Linked DNA regions of Homo sapiens: region 1 is linked to region 2. The links are contacts of gene promoters, found by promoter capture Hi-C in human tissues and cell types (Jung and others, 2019). All regions are on one chromosome and are shown on one strand. Each heading gives the region's core, a stretch centred on a gene start or on the middle of the fragment in contact. The rest is flanking DNA. Distances are from core to core; before and after follow the strand shown.

The links. The method cuts DNA at HindIII sites, captures the fragments that hold promoters and counts their contacts. A contact is called where the count stands out against the background at its distance.
Region 1: a contact is called between the fragment with the promoter of JUP here and a fragment that was not itself captured in region 2, in 2 of the 25 tissues and cell types used here (adrenal gland and mesenchymal stem cells).

Annotation. Positions count from the first base shown.
Region 1 is chr17:41,784,360-41,790,017 of GRCh38, reverse strand. JUP (junction plakoglobin) reads left to right here and starts at 3,307. Exons shown (of 14, transcript NM_002230.4): 1 at 3,307-3,430. RefSeq lists silencers at 3,339-3,638, 3,803-4,015. The HindIII fragment of the contact is 40,774 bases long and covers 1-5,658 here.
Region 2 is chr17:41,986,535-41,992,010 of GRCh38, reverse strand. It overlaps DNAJC7 (DnaJ heat shock protein family (Hsp40) member C7), which reads left to right. Exons shown (of 14, transcript NM_003315.4): 6 at 1,629-1,747; 7 at 2,454-2,607; 8 at 3,115-3,279; 9 at 4,101-4,192. Among named protein-coding and RNA genes, the nearest start is that of CNP, 22 kb to the right of the region's middle. RefSeq lists enhancers at 3,066-3,566, 3,567-4,067. The HindIII fragment of the contact is 3,975 bases long and covers 1,262-5,236 here.

The DNA of each region.
Region 1 (5,658 bases), core at 2,058-4,557, 200 kb after region 2:
AGCCCATGGACTCTGCTTCCACTGAGCCCTGGGCAAGAGGAAGGAATTGAAACTGCAGGAATAGGAATTGAGGCTGGACATTAGAACAAGGAGACAGGGGCATTCACCATAAGGGAGGCTGCAGGATCTTCTTTCCTGGACATTTGTCAGAGAATTCTTGCCTTTAAAGGTTTGCAGGCAGGGGACTGGATAAGATGACCTTGCGGCCTTTTCTTCAAGTTCAAGCTACAGGGGAGACTGTGGTCACAGAAACCCCCATCCTATCCCTACATACCTCCTTTCACAAGAGACCAAATTGCCTGTGCAGACAGCTGAGTCTAGGAAACATCATTTCTGATTCTATTCTGTATTCTCAGATACAGATGAATCTCAGTGCCTGCCAGGCACATAGTAGGTGCTTAAAGAGAATCCCTTGATCTGGGAGGAGAGACTCAGCTCTAATCCCAGTCTTTGCCGCTGCTGTGGTGGTGCTTCCACCAGTCCCAGCCTGTGTGTTTAGCTCTGGGGCTGGTGTTATGCAACATGTTCCATGCTAAGACACGCAGGGGGCATTCTGGGGAGACACACACACACACACACACACACACACACACACACGGTTTATTCTGAAACCTTATTTCTGCTCCTCCACCCACATGGGCTCCTCCACCCCTCTCTGCAGTCAACCAGCCCTACCCTGCCTCTTTGCTGAGGTCAGGAGAAATAGGAAGGAGTCAGGCCAGGCTTGGAGCTGGGACGTATGTGTGTGTGCATGTGTGGAGGTGGGAGGTGGGCAGAAGGGGGAAGAAATGAAACCCTGGCAGCTGCAGCAGTCCAGGATTGTGAGCCCATTCCTTCCCCAGCTGTGGCCTGGCTACAGCTCTATGTGACAGGGTGACAAGCAGGTGGATGGGGCAGGGGTAAGGCAGGGATAAAGATAGGGAGGTAAGCTGGAGGATGGAGAGTTGAGGAAACAGGCAAAGGGCGGTGGCCCTGGTTATGGGATGGCCACTAGTTCAGGGATGTCCGTATCTCCCTGGCCCTGCTTTTGGATGGCGCAACTTCAGAAGGGAGAATGTTCAGCTACCATTCTTTTCTCTGGTGGGGAAAGTGGTCAAGGTTGCTGCTAAGGTACCTTCATCCAGCCCATCCTGTGTGCTAGCTTTGGGGCTGTAGAGCTTTGTTGATGGGGGACCCTTTTCTAAACCACCACTCCTCCAAAACCCACCCACACACGCTGCTTCTGCTTATCCTTCTATGAGCTCTTTGAAGGTTGGGATCATTTTTATTTCCTGTGTCACCAGGTTTTATTTTCTGTGTTCACCAGTGCCTAACATACAGTTGACAATGAATACTCAAGTGTTGAATGAAGGAATGTTTGTAGGGCCCTTGGCACACCATACAGCCACGAGCAGCATTCATGTCATCAACCACAGAAAGGAAGTGCCCTTGTCTTCTTAAGCTGCCTGTGAGAAGTCCTTTTTATTTTTTTGAGACAGAGTCTCACTCTGTCACCCAGGCTGGAGTGCAATGGCATGATCTCAGCTCACTGCAACCTCTGCCTCCCGGGTTCACGCCATTCTCCTGCCTCAGCCTCCCGAGTAGCTGGCATTACAGGTGCCCGCTGCCATGCCTGGCTAATTTCTGTATTTTCAGTAGAGATGGGGTTTCACCATGTCGGCCAGGCTGGTCTCGAACTCCTGACCTCAAGTGATCTGCCCACCTTGGCCTCCCAAATTGCTGGGATTACAGGCATGAGCCACCACGCCTGGCCGAGAAGTTCTCTCTGATCTCTACCCCAGGCTCTCCTATCGCAGAGGGGTGTGCTGCCCGGTTTATTTTTTTCTTTTCTTTTTTTTTTTTTTGTTTGAGATGGAGTCTCGCTCTGTCATGCCCAGGCTGGAGTGCAGTGACATGGTCTCGGCTCACTGCAACCTCCGCCTCCCAGGTTCAAGCAATTCTCCTGCCTCAGTCTCCCAGGCAGCTGGGATTATAGTTGCCCGCCACCACGCTCGGCTAACTTTTTGTATTTTTTGTAGAGATGGGGCTTCACCATATTGGCCAGGCTGGTGTTGAACTCCCGACCTCAGGTGATCCACCCGCCTTTGCCTCCCAAAATGCTGAGATTACAGGAGTGAGCCACTGCGCCTGGCCTGCCCCGTTTCTTTCATGCCAGGGCTGGATTTCCTTCAGATCTGCTGCTTGATGTTTCCAAGCCCACCAAAGCCTCCTGACACCAATACTGTATTTTTGTGCCAATTAATTGTTCTGTCTCTCCTCCAAGTGTTTGTGCCTTTTCTCTGCCCCTTCCCCATTGCCTTGACATTTTATGTCTATGCTCCTCTTCCATGAGGGGAACAGCTGGTTTGATGGTCCTTCAAATGAGAGGAAGGAGGTTCTAGCTTGGGGTGTGCCACTTTGTAGTTTTGTGACTTCTCTGAACTTCGGTTTCTTCATCTTTACAATGAGGGTCGTTTTCTCATCCTAACTATTTTTCAGAGCTGTCACAATAATTAAAAAAAAACATACCGTTAATTTAAATTTCTAACCTTTAGCAGTTTCTGAGTGCTTTCACAAACCTGACCTCATTTAATCCCCACATACTCCAGTGAGGTAGATATGGCTAATGTATCCAGTTTACAGAAGAGGAGAAACAGGGTGAAGTAACTTGCCTAAAATCATACCAAGTGGGAGAAGACCAAACCTGGCCTTCTAATTCTAAATCCCAGGAGTACTCCATCTTTCGGGAAAAAAATCCCACCCCAGCACAAAGCCTATGAAATGCTATACAAATATGTGATTACTACTTTGGGGCAAGGATGAATAAGCCCAAAGAAGCATCATGCCTGACGCTGAGTTGGCTGGCCGGTGAAGGCGTCTGTCCCTTCCCTTGGTATCCCTATGACTTACCTGTTGGACAGGTAGGGGGAAGGGGAGAGTAATGAGTCTCACCTGCTCAGAGCAAGGGTGGGGCAAGACACACCCCATCCCTTCCATTGGTTTTTTCCTTAGTCTTACTGACAGAGCCTTGTCCAATCAGGAGGAAGTAACTTTCTATCTGCCAATAGATGCAATGTTAGGATGAGACCTCAAGTTAGAGTCCATCCCTAGAGCCGACTGGCAGTCCCCGGGGCCAATGGCAAGCGGATAAACAGAGGCGGCCGTGGAAGAGGACTGGAGGCGAGGCTCCGCCCCTCCACGGGACAGTCAGGCGAGATAGCCAGTGAGCTCGCACCAGAGGGTGGGCGTCTCCCCCAGGGGCGGAGCTTCGAGGTGGCGAGGGGCGTGGCTTGGCTGTCAGGTCTCTTCGCCTTTTGTTCGGTTACTGAGTTGCTGCCTTGGCCAGAGTCCGGAGCAGCCGCCGCCCGACCACGCCGAGCTCAGTTCGCTGTCCGCGCCGGCTCCCACCCCGGCCCGACCCCGACCCGGCCCGGTCAGGCCCCATACTCAGGTGCGGGCTATCGGGGGCGCAGGTATCGTTGGGGACAGAGGGGTGGCGAGCGGCCGCGGGGCCGGTCCCAGCCGTCCCTGGGCAGGTGAGGGCCGGTGCCATCGAGCGCCACCCTGCACCGGCGGCAGGGGGCGCGCTGGGGTCCTGGGCGCGGCGACTTGGGGGTCGCGCGGTTCGGGCCGAGCGCGCCTCGGAGCTCCGCGAACCAGAGATCTGAGCAAGGCGGGGAGGGATCCGGACAGGTGCCTCCGGGGTCGCGCCTCCCCCGGGGCCCGCGCAGCTCGCCCGACGCCGCGTCCCTGACTCTCGCCCTGGGCTGGCGGGGGAGACTTTGCTCTGCTTCGACTGCGTCCCAGGGCTCACGCTGCAGTCAGGAATTTACCGTTTGGGGAACTTGCTGCCGCTGGTCTCTTTGGGGCCACCCTCACCCCACCCCACGCGTCATCCTCGCTTTCCCTCCCTCCCTACTCCCCCAGGCCTGGGTGGGGCCCTATTGTTTGCGCCCAGCTTGCCCAACTGTGGGGGCCGAGCGCACATTTTCCCAGCGACTCTGGCCCCACCTGCCGAGCAGGTGAGCGCACGGAGTCCAGAGGCCCTGCCCTCCAGCTCCCAGAGCCTCGTCGATACTACCTGCGGCGCCTCCCTCCACGCCGGTGGGAGCCCGGCTCTGGCTTCTTCAGCGGAGGTGGGATGGAGTGACTGGGGGGTGCAGGGCTCGGCTCAGTGTCCAGCTGGTGTCTGGCACCCGTGGCTCGCCCTGGGGTCTGGGGGGTGGGGTCTGTGCACGGATGAAGAATTCAGGGTCACCTGGCCCAGTTTCCAGTAGCTGTGGCTGCCAGAGTGTTGGTAGGGGAACAGGACCCGTCTTCTCTAACCTCTTATTGTTGGAAAAAATCACCCAAAACAAACTTTGCAGGAGGAAGTATTCACAGCAGCTTTATCTGGGGGTTTTCCCGTCTCCTTGCCCAAAACTTCCTTTAGGCTTAGGGGGTCCTTCCTGGTGCAAAACCCCTTCCCCCAGCCGGCCCCTGGCTGAACCTGGGCCGGTGCCTGGGCTCCGACCCTGTCTTCCCTGCCCCCACATTCATCCTGTTCGCTGGGCCCCAGGGGCCTGAGGTAGGGGCCGGGGTGGGGGGTGGAAAGTGCTGAGAGGGGAAGCAGCTTCTTCCTTCTCTTCCTGCCTCCTGGGACCACCACACCCCCTCAGACAAGGCCTGCGTAAGTGGTTGTCTCTCAAGCTCTGCCCCCTCCCCAGGAATGGGGGTGGGGCAGGGCTGGGCCAAACTGAGGAAGGTGGGGGGAGTGGTTGTTCTTGTCTTTTTTTTTTTGCCTCTACCCCATCCCCCACATTACTTAGCTGGCTGGTTATTGAGGCAGAAGCGCATGAGGCTGTGGGACTTGCCTTCCATTTGATTTCTGAATTGTGAAGGTGCATGCTTTCTGGAGGCCTGCACAGACCTTTCCCACCCGCTTTCCTGAAAGAATTTGACAGGGAAAGTGAGACCGCAGGAAGGCTTTTTGGGGGAAGGTTTCTTCAATGCTAGACTCTCTCAGGCAGAGCTGCATCGGGCCCCCTGCCTTCCCTGCTCCCAATTTCCTGAGACCGCCCCCCCCCACCCAGAATTGGGGATCTTGATCAGGGTTTGTACCCCGGTTTAAAAAAAAAATCTGAAATGTGGTCTTTTTGCAGGATTTGGAGCCCAGCCTCGTTGGGGAACAGAGAGAGAATACAACAGTTGGGTTCTCTCTCAGTCCTGGGGGTGGGAGAAAGATTGTGGGGGGCGGGGATCGAGAGTGCTTGGAGGGGAAGAGTCTACCACCTCTTTCTTTGTTGTAGATGGGGGAGTGAGGCTGGGGGCCCAGACTCAGCCCCTTTATCCTGGGTGGGGATCACGCTCAGCCCTGTGCTAGGGGGAAGTCAGTGTGGGAACTCAGATCCTTTTCTGCCGGGGGATGGGATTCTGCACCTCTGGGGAGCAACAGGAGCAGGGAGTTTGGGCAAAAATAACCTGCTTTCCCTCTTCTCTGTGCCAAGGTGGAGGAGGGGAGGGCATTGTAATTATGTTGGCTACATGATTAGTTTAGCTAATCTGGTTTGTGGCTGTGATGAAAAGATAATACTGAGGAAGTACTGCTAGGAGGTGCTTGGTGAAAACTGGCCACTGACTGGACTGGGGGATGCGGGGGAGGAGGAGAAGGTAGGACCCAGTTAGTCATTTCTTGCTAGA
Region 2 (5,476 bases), core at 2,000-4,499:
GCTATTCATGGTTCAAAAACTAGAAAGTGTTGCCAGATGCAGTGGCTTATGCTTGTAATCCCAGCACTTTGGGAGGCCAAGGCAGGAGGATCACTTGAGGCGAGGAGTTCGAGACCAACCTGGGCAACTTATTGAGACCCTGTCTCTACAGATAATTTAAAATTTTAGCTGAGTGTGGTGACGTGTGCCTGCAGTCCCAACTACTCATGAGGCTGAGGCAGGAGAATCACTGGAGTCTGGGAAGTCGAGGCTGCAGTGAGCCATGATTGTGCCACTGATACTCCAGCCTGAACAGCAGAGCAAGACCCCATCTCAAAAACAAAACAAACAAAAGTTAGAAAGTATGAAAAATATTCAGTGATGAGTGTCCCCTCAAACTTGTCCTCTCTCCGCCCAGTTCTCACTCCCCTAAGCTAACCACTGTTCTTATGTCTTCTATTTTCTTCCTTAGTTTTGTTGTACTTATATAAAATAAAGATCCTTGATTTTCTCCCTTTATTTAGCGTGAAAGGTAGTATGCTTTATGGCAGGTCTGCACCTTTAAAAAAAAATCACTGAGTAGCTCTTGGAAGTCTTTCCATATTAGTACATGAAGAGCTTCTTCATTCTATTTTAGAACTATATAGTATTCCATTATATGAATGTCCATGTTAACTAACCAGTCTCCTGTGGATGGAATTTGAATTTTTCTGCTTGTAAGTTTTCAGAGTTTATCTCTTCCTGACCCCCATGGCCAAATTCTTAGAGGGAATAGGTGTCCCTTAACTCCAGATTTGTCCTTCGGTTCATTTATTCTCGGCGTGAATGTGATTCAGCAAGGCTCTCCCAGGAATAAATAGCAGCTAAACCAAAACTGAAAGCTCAGAGGACAAACTAGTAAAAAGAGAAAAACAGAATATATGGAGATGCTTTATGAGGCTGAAAGAGTAAATTAATCCCCACCTTTTTGTGTGTGTGATTGCTCCTTGGCTTGTGGTTTGTATAGTGGCATGTTGGGAATAGTAATCTGATGTAGCCTATTTAGAGCCATTTAAAATAACTATTTTAAGGCTGGGTGTGGTGGCTCACGCCTGTAATCCTAGCACTTCGGGAGGCTGAGGAGGACGGATCACGAGGATCAAGACCATCATGGCTAACATGGTGAAACCCTGTGTTTACTAAAAATACAAAAAAAAATTAGCTTGGGCGTGGTGGCGGGCGCCTGTAGTCCCAGCTACTCGGGAGGCTGAGGCAGGAGAATGGCGTGAACCCAGGAGGCAGAGGTGGCAGTGAGCCAAGATCCTGCCACTGCACTCCAGCCTGGGTGACAGAGTGAGACTCCATCTCAAAAAAAAAAAAAAAAGTGATAATATTGCCTATTTCATAAAATTCTTGTGAGGATTAAATGGGTTCATATATGAAAGTACCCAGTAAATGTTTACTGTCCTCATTATCATCTGGAGCCTTTGCTGTCCTCATTTCAGTGCTTTTATTTAATGAATTAGGTATGTTTTTAAACTTTGATATTACTTAGAAGTGGACCCAAAGACCTCATTGAGTTTTGAGTCTGTTACCTGTGACTAAACTAAAGTGAAGATGTTTCTGGAGTCCCTGATGAAGAGCCTTATTTGTTTTCTTCTTCCCTACAGGTTGTTTTCTGCATGGACCGTGCCCTAGAATTTGCCCCTGCCTGCCATCGCTTCAAAATCCTCAAGGCAGAATGTTTAGCAATGCTGGGTCGTTATCCAGAAGCACAGTCTGTGGCTAGGTATGCAGTCAGGCTAGCTGGACATTAAAATGCCAGATACCATTGGACTGATGGTGTCCGGCAGCTTCACCACAGGATATGGTCCCCAGAGTAGGCCAGCTAGGGCTGATCAGACCCTCTTGGGACTTAAAGTCAAAGATTAGACCAGCTTTGAAAACCCGTAGGGTATACAGGAGTATAGTAGTATAGCAGGTACTTGAGCTATATATGAAAGAACAGATTGTGTTTTTGTGGTTTTGTTTGTTTGTTTAAGGTAGTCCTTTTCCTTCTACTCCACTGGTTGGCACACTTTCTGCAAAGGGCCAGATTTTAGCCTTTGCAGGCCACAGGGTCTCTGTTGCAACTAACTCAACTCTGCCATTGCAGTGCAAAGGTTGCCCTAGATAATAGATGAACCAATGGGTGTGGCTGTTTGAATAGTGTTTTATTTACAAAAACCAGTGGCAGAAAGGATTTGGCCCTGTGGGCTGTAGTTTGCCAAACCCTGTTCTAGTTTAATAAGGATTGTAAGACACAAGATGTGTATTAAAGATAATTATAGGTGGTTTATTTGGGGAAAGTTTGGGAACAGTTCTTGGGAATCTGTCTACCTTTGGATATTTTGAATGCTAGACACATGGTCAAGGAGGAAAACTGGCCACAAATGGTAGTAATGGTGGGGACATTCTAAAGCACAGCTCAATGTGCCCTTTTCTGACTATTGCAGTGACATTCTACGAATGGATTCCACCAATGCAGATGCTCTGTATGTACGAGGTCTTTGCCTTTATTACGAAGATTGTATTGAGAAGGCAGTTCAGTTTTTCGTACAGGCTCTCAGGATGGCTCCTGACCACGAGAAGGCCTGCATTGCCTGCAGAGTAAGTTCTAGTCACCAGACCTAACTGGGAAAGAGCTTCCTTTTGGGACCTTTAAGATGGCTAGAGTGGAAGGTTTTAGAATCACAAGGAATGTGATAGCTTTTCCTCCTGCTTTGCAAGGATGCTTGGTCTTTATTAGAAATGGTTTCAGGACTACTTGTATTTACCTAAAGGTAGATGTGATCATATAGGGTCGGATGCCTTTAATATCTAAGAGGGTTTTTTTGTTTTGTTTTTCCCCTCAGTGAAGATAGATAGTAATACTTGTCCTGAGAAGTGAAGGCAGACCCAGTAACATAGGTCTCATTGGTATTTTTGGTAACTCTTTTCCTGTCCACTCTGTAGGAAGCTCAAATGAGCAACAGATAGCCCAGATTGGGGGTTGGCGGGGCTCTGTGATGCTGAACTGCTGGAAGCAAAGAACTTGAAAATAGAGTCTGGCCTCTCTGTGCAATGGTCTGAGGCTTTGTGGATATGAACCGATCCTCCCCTTGCTTTTTTCTGTAGAATGCCAAAGCACTCAAAGCAAAGAAAGAAGATGGGAATAAAGCATTTAAGGAAGGAAATTACAAACTAGCATATGAACTGTACACAGAAGCCCTGGGGATAGACCCCAACAATATAAAAACAAATGCTAAACTCTACTGTAATCGGGGTACGGTTAATTCCAAGGTAAGCTCTTGATCTAGATCTTGGGGCCTATAGAAATATTTTTAAGGGACATCAAAGGGTCTTGGGAAATCTGCCTAGTGAGGGTAAGCAAGATGAAAGAGGGAAAGTTGTTATGGTTAATAGTTTGTTAGGAACTCCCTTCCAAGAGGCAAGCTTTTGTCATCTCTATGGAATTTGAGGGCAGTTGGACAATTTGCAAGGATATTCTCACCTGTTCATTAAGGTCCCTTTCCTCCAGTAAGAGAATGGCTAGGGTCTGTGGGATAATCTTAAGCACCTACTGTTGCTTTTTTGTTGTTTTGCTTATGCAAGTGATCATTTATTTTTTAGGAGTGATTTGGAGGAAGAGTATGAGGCAAGCTTGTTTTTCTCCAGTGTAATTGATGGTCACCATGCATGGTTGAAAATGGCCTGAGTGCTTTTGTGGCCCTACCCAACATCAGAAACAAAAAGTAGACTCCTTGCCCTTGCAGAATTCTAGCAGTTAAAAATCAGAGTGATTTCTGATCCCTGCAGGTGACCTCTGGAAAAAAGGAGGGCAGGAACCAGCCTTACTATTTTCATGTTTTCATTGGGCACTAACATGGAATGGTAAAGGTAGTTTATCCTTGAAGACAGATGTGCCTGGCTTGTATCATATACAAGAGAAATCAATTTTGAAGTTGCTGTCCATAGCCCTGGTGACAAAGAACTAGAACTTAATATGACATTTAAGGGGCCAGCATGACTGATCCTCTTAGAGTTTTGAAGCCATGCTCACAGCTTCTGGGCTCCCTCAGTCACCAAAGGTGTGAAGTATGATTGCTCTCTCTCTCCTGAAGCTTAGGAAACTAGATGATGCAATAGAAGACTGCACAAATGCAGTGAAGCTTGATGACACTTACATAAAAGCCTACTTGAGAAGAGCTCAGTGGTAAGTGCCTCTGATGGGTAGGGGGAAGAGGGAGTTGCCGCTGGCCTCAGGGGAATTGCCTTGTGGATGACGAAGCAGACCCAGAGATGTTGTGAGGTCATTTGGTCCTTCCCCCTGCCTCTAGGTGGGATTGTTCCAGCCCTAGACTATCTTTATAGACCTCCAGCGGAGGAGATTGCACAAGCTCCCTCAGTCTCCCATGCCTGTGTCTAACGCCCCTCACGGTCAGTAAGTTTCCTCTGATGCCTGACCCAAATTCCTTTTGTTAAAAAGTTTAAATCCATTTCCTTTGGAGATTTTATTTTGTGTTGTACACTTATGCTCTACCCTGGCACAGTGCTTGACACATAGGTGCTCACTGAATAAATGTTTTGTTGAATGAATGTATGGTGCTTGGAAGAGAAAACAACTCTTGGAGACAGTTGAGAGTTGTACTTCATCCTGTTTGTTCTGGGCGAGGGAAGACAATCTTAGAGTTGGAAGAGATGTAATCCGGCTCAGCCTCCCAGGATAAAGGAACTTCCTTTTGAAACACCCTGGATGGCTACTCTCTGCTTGAGTGTTTTGAGTGGAGGGCACTCTGTGTCTGACAGGGTGATTATGAGCCAGGATGTGCCTACCTCTAATGCTCACATTTGCCCCAGAGTCAGGGTGCTCCCTGGCATGGTTGCTCCTCTTACTCTTAGACCCACCAGCTGGTTTTCTCCAGATAGGAACAGGGCTAGGAGAAATCTTTCTCAGAAATCCATCTCTTCTGATTTCAGATTATTCTCTAGGCGGAGAAAAACTTCCCGTCTTTAAAGTTCTTAGAGAAGATGTATTTATTGTATACTAATCCTCCAGCACCTGCTCCACTCCTTATTATAAAATGTCATATCCAAAGAACAGATGCTGTCACTGATGCCTGATGAGCCAGTAGTTTAAGCTTCCTTGTCTCATCAGTGGTACAGAATATCTCATGGACTACCTCCCACTTAGTTTTCTCAAAATTATCTCACTTAAAATAGGAAAACTGCTGCTGTGTGTGATGCTTTTTTTAAAAGTGAATTTCTAAGTTGATGACTAAGTCTGTCCAACAGAAACATACAGGGAATTATAACTTCTGTGAGACTGACTGTCAGTCATTCCATCTTTGCAAACCACTGGCACACAGAAGCAGAAGCTTTGGAAGACAAAAAAAGCACCCTTTGATTCAGCCAAAGACTGACTTTAACAGACGCAAAATGCTATATACATGAAGGTGTTTGCTGCAATTTTATCTATAATAGCAAAAAAAAAAAAAAA